Linked DNA regions of Homo sapiens: region 1 is linked to region 2. Evidence: promoter capture Hi-C in human tissues and cell types (Jung and others, 2019). All regions are on one chromosome and are shown on one strand. Each heading gives the region's core, a stretch centred on a gene start or on the middle of the fragment in contact. The rest is flanking DNA. Distances are from core to core; before and after follow the strand shown. Region 1 holds the start of FMO4 (flavin containing dimethylaniline monoxygenase 4). Region 2 has its middle 13 kb from the start of FMO3.

What was found. Contacts are between HindIII fragments. The study calls those that stand out against the background at their distance.
Region 1: a contact is called between the fragment with the promoter of FMO4 here and a fragment that was not itself captured in region 2, in 1 of the 25 tissues and cell types used here (IMR-90 fibroblasts).

What each region holds. Positions count from the first base shown.
Region 1 is chr1:171,312,904-171,315,643 of GRCh38, reverse strand. FMO4 (flavin containing dimethylaniline monoxygenase 4) reads right to left here and starts at 1,461. Exons shown (of 10, transcript NM_002022.3): 1 at 1,231-1,461. The HindIII fragment of the contact is 8,197 bases long and covers 1-2,740 here.
Region 2 is chr1:171,076,065-171,078,791 of GRCh38, reverse strand. No RefSeq gene overlaps it. Among named protein-coding and RNA genes, the nearest start is that of FMO3, 13 kb to the left of the region's middle. The HindIII fragment of the contact is 4,052 bases long and covers 1-2,727 here.

The DNA of each region.
Region 1 (2,740 bases), core at 212-2,711, 240 kb before region 2:
TGAGTGAACTGGAAATTGAGAGATCTGAGTTCTAGTTCTGCTTCTGCCTCTAAGCAGCTTGTAACCCTGGACACAATTCTCAATTTCTCTGAGCCAGTGCTTCCACATTTGTAAAACAGAGGGTTCAAGTGGCTTTCTCTTTGTTTCCTTCAAGCTTGAAAGGACTGTTCTTATGTCTGAAAACCAAGTAATTGGTGCACAAAAAAAAAAAGATATGAATTCAAAGGTAGGCGAGAATACTGCAGGCTTGAAGGATTGGGAGAACGTGTGTGCAAACTCTGCAAACTATAAAGTGGACTTCATAAGGTACTTGGTTGCTCAAAGGTGCTTATATTTATTTATTTATTTATTTGAGTTGGAGTCTCACTCTGTCTTCCAGGCTGGAATGCAGTGGCACAATTTCGGCTCACTGCAACCTCCACCTCCTGGGTTCAAGTGATTCTCCTGCCTCAGCCTCCTGAGTAGCTGAGACTACAGGCAGGCGGCACCACGCCTGGATAATTTTTGTATTTTTAGTAGAGACGGGGTTTCACCATGTTGGTCAGGCTGGTCTCAAACTCCTGATCTCAAGTGGTCTGCCCTCCTCGGCTTTCCAAAGTGCTGGGATTACAGGCGTGAGCCACCGTGCCAGCCATAGGTTGCTTATATTTAGTCCCTTGGCAGAAAGGAGACCTGACCTATTGAACTAGACCTTTGTACAACGGGAAAACCCCACCCTATACCTGACTGACCAGCAAATGTAGGAATCCTTTATGAGACATGGAGAGACTTGGGTGATTTGCAAATCATGTAATCAATTATGATTTCTTTGAATTTGAAATTTGATCATTTTATGTTTCTTATCATCATCCTACCATGCTCTTGCTTTGTTACAGTATTTTTTTCCCACGCCATCTATGGGGTATTTGTTTCCCAATGGCTGGCATTTCCATCTCATTCATAAGATGAAATCAGAGGTCACTGGAGTCACTGAAAGTCTCATGATTCTGTTTATCTCACTGACACTTTCCTTTTGGATGGTTCTGTCCACAACATAACTTTGTTTCCTTACAACTTCCCTTTGCTTCCTGACTCTCTCCTTAATTCTCTTGCTTTAGCCCTAGTCAAGAGACCCCAAAAGAAGATAATCACATTCATTCTTAAGGAACACACTCCAAGAAAAACATTCATCTTTTGTGAAAGCAGTTTCTGGATCATTTCCCCATTAAAAAAAAAATCCAGGACACTTACCTTGGTTAGCATAGAGCAGATTCTTTGACTTAAATTATTTCTCAAAGTCAAGGAAAGTGTTTGTCTTTTTTTTTTAAAAAAGCTCAAAACCCAAATTCTTTTTTCTGAAAGAAAAATAAATGGAAAGATGACTTTTGTAAAAGTGCCCTCAGTTTAAAACAAAAGCCATTCGTCTTTTCTGTTATGCTAGTGACAGCAGAAAGTATACAGACTAAGGAAAAAAAGTTGTGTAAGAGGCAAGCGTGATACTTCCGTGATCTTAAGGGAGGGCGGAATGGTGAGTTAGAATACAGCTGTTGGATTGGCAGAACATAAACGCTTCCTGCCCCTTTACCCCACCCTCCTCAACGTCATAGTTCTGGCAAAGCCCTAAAGCTATGGGAAGCACATGATAGCGTCGCTTTTGCCATTATAGTCTGTAGAGGGCGCCAAATCACCCCAAATTACAGCTTTCTCAGCGAAACAGGAGTTCTACTTTTGGAAACAAACTTCTACACCCTGACTCTTGCTTGGATTACCATAGGAGCTGTCCAAAGGAGAAAGTTATTTAGATGACCATTACCTCATCAAGTTCTTTCATGCTTGGAGTTCTCCAACCCCAGAAATGTGATTTTAAAGTTCAGGACTTACAAGGAATTTAAGCTGTTTTGTCCTTCAGATTGGATCAGCAGAGGGAGCTGGTGAAATGTGTTTGAGAAAGCATAAAGCTATTTTTAGATATTAACCTAGGGCACAAGAAAGGTAATAATTATAGAAGCTGTGGCAGAAATAGAAAACTTAACTGTTTTTCCTTCCACTGTGTGCTTGTAAGATAATATAACAGACCATCTTTAGGACTTGTGTTTAGGGACATTTTCCAACATGGTTCACTGAACAATTTCTAAACCACATTTGCTTGTGACTACACATGCAAATGCCTACAGGAGTGAGGAGGGTAACATACACGAGGAAAGTGGGCCAGATATGATCTGACTGGAAAGTACTTTCTCTGTCTATTCAGTTCAGCTAAATGTTGCTATTTGAGAAAATGAGCCCAATATGGCAAGGCCTTAGGTTCTTTTCAGTAAAAGCTGCAAATACAGATTTTAATATAAAATCTTCTGTTGGCAGCAAATATTTTCTTTTGAAAAATATCATGGAATATTATGCAGCCATAAAAAGAAATAAGATCATGTCCTTTGCAGGGACATGGATGAAGCTGGAAGCCATCATCCTCAGCAAACTAACACAGGAACAGAAAACCAAACACTGCATGTTCTCACTCATAAGTGGGAGTTGAACAATGAGAACACATGGACACAGAGAGGGGAATGTTGTAGGGCCTGTTGTAGGGTAGGGGGTGAGGAGAGGGAACTTAGAGGAGAACAGGTCAATAGGTGCAGCAAATCACCATGGCACACGTGTACCTATGCAACAAACCTGCACGTTCTGCACATGCATCCCACTTTTTTTTAGAAGAAATAAAGAAAAAAATTTAAAAAAAGAAAAAAAAATATTGTGTCCAGAGTTA
Region 2 (2,727 bases), core at 121-2,620:
TGATGGGGTTGTTTGTTTTTTTCTTGTAAATTTGTTTGAGTTCATTGTAGATTCTAGATATTAGCCCTTTGTCAGATGAGTAGGTTGCGAAAATTTTCTCCCATTTTATGGGTTGCCTGTTCACTCTGATGGTAGTTTCTTTTGCTGTGCAGAAGCTCTTTAGTTTAATTAGATCCCATTTGTCAATTTTGGCTTTGGTTGCCATTGCTTTTGGTGTTTTGGACATGAAATCCTTGCCTGTGCCTATGTCCTGAATGGTAATGCCTAGGTTTTCTTCTAGGGTTTGTATGGTTTTAGGTCTAATGTTTAAGTCTTTAATCCATCTTGAATTAATTTTTGTAAAAGGTGTAAGGAAGGGATCCAGTTTCAGCTTTCTACATATGGCTAGCCAGTTTTCCCAGCACCATTTATTAAATAGGGAATCCTTTCCCCATTGCTTGTTTTTCTCAGGTTTGTCAAAGATCAGATAGTTGTAGATATGTGGCGTTATTTCTGGGGGCTCTGTTCTGTTCCATTGATCTATATGTCTGTTTTGGTACCAGTACCATGCTGTTTTGGTTACTGTAGCCTTGTAGTATAGTTTGAAGTCAGGTAGCATGATGCCTCCAGCTTTGTTCTTTTGGCTTAGGATTGACTTGGCGATGCGGGCTCTTTTTTGGTATTGACATTGACCTCAGAAAGCGTGCCAGATTTTTCATAGGTTAGTGATACATAGATCTGCAGTAACGTATGATTACTGTTTAAAAACCAATGTCTCTTTTTGGTTGTGAAGATTTTTGCATTAAAAATACATATAAGATATTGATAAAACCCCACATATGTAATCTAAAAACTCCTCCACGTTTGCAGCTGAACTTCTGAGTTAAAAAAATTTCTAATGAAATGGTTCAGTTAAATTATTTCATGTCTACATCCTTAAGCTGCTGTCTATACTGCAGATAAAATGTGATTCACATGTGATCACTACTGAGAAAAATTGAGTACAAGGAACTATTGAATATATTGAAATATTTTTATATGTTTAAGAAAAGTTAGGAACTAGATAAAGAGGTGAAAAAGAAAGGGCCTTGAAGAATGTGCCAGGAAGGCCTTGAATCTTCATCCAAGCTTTGCACAATTGATACGTAGTCTAACAGGCTTGGACCTTGGAACTAAAAATGATTCTTCTGGGGCAGCCACCCAGTAGACATCTGTTTCAAGTGCATATGATGCATAACTCATGCCCCTCCCCCGACCCCCTGCCATCCCACATTGCTCAACTCCTTAAGATAAGCTTTAGTTTTTTAATTTCACTTGTAACTTTTATAAGAACTTCCGATAGCCTCTTAGGAAAGAAGAAACCTACATATTTTAATAAAGCTTGATGGCATATAATTTTATACTAAAATTTTATAAAGCAAAATTAATAAATACAAGTGTATTAGTCTGTTTTCATGTTGCTGATAAAGACATACCTGAAACTGGGCAATTTACAAAAGAAAGACATTTAATGGACTTATACGTGGCTGAGGAAGCCTAATCATGACACTAGGCAAAAAGAGAGCTTGTGCAGGGAAACTCCCCCTTATAGAACCATCAGATCTCATGAGATTTATTCACTATAATGAGGACAGCATGGGAAAGTCCTGCCCTCATGATTCAATTACCTCCCACTGGGTCCCTCCCACAACATGTGGGAATTCAAGATGAGATTTGGGTGGGGACACAGCAAAACCATATCAATCAGACTTTGAGTTAAAATAACACAATATTTTATGTAATTTTTATGCTTGACTATGTACCAGAAAGAATTACTTTGCTAGCTTCTTCTTTCTCCTCATTTCCTGCTGCCTCTGCAGTACCCATCCCCAATATAAATAGAACACATGAATTTTGGAATCAAATAGATCTGCAGTCTGATAGAATAGGTAGTAAGAAAGGGAGTAGAGGCAAATATGGGTGGGCTGGGTTCAAAGAAAGAGGCATGGTGGAGTTGAGGAATTTCCTAGATGATGGCTTCTATTTTTGTCTATAATGTAGGGAGCAAAGTCATCTGCTGAGAATGAGTGGGCAAGTCGTCAAGTAGTAGATTTCAGGAGTGTTAAATAAAGGCAGGAACTACCTATAAGGCTTGCCTGGGGTATCAAGGTCTGATTGGGGTTGAGGAACACAGATTTCTAATAGACCAGGACTTCTTCATGGGCAATAGCAGCATTCTGCATGCATGTGTAATGTTTCTCAGGGAGCAGTGTAATCTAGGAGCAGAGAAGGAAGTAAAGTAGGTGAATTCATCTAAGGTTAGAGTTTTCCTAGATAGGTTCAAAGGAAGGGGGATGGTGGGGTAGCAGCTTTTTTTCTGAGGGTGGCAGCTGAAGTGAAAGACAAGAGTCCTAAGCCATGCAAGAAGGCAATGAAGATTTGACAACAGGGTTTAAAGGTCTGAATCTTCGCAGTAAAGTGAAAGATGAGATGTGGTAGGAATGAAGGTGTCATGAGCTGAACTGTGCTCCCCACCAAACTCCTACGTTGAAGTCTTAACCCGTAGTACTGCAAAAGATGACTGTATTTGGAGATAGGGTCTTTAAAGGGGGAACTAAGATTAAATGAGTTCATTAGGGTGGGTTCTAATTTGGTCTTACAGTGTCCTAATAAGAAGAGATTAACACACAGACACAGAGGAAAGATCGTGAGAGGACACAGAGAAGTTGGCTATCTATAAGCTAAGGAGAGAGGCCTCAGAAGAAACCA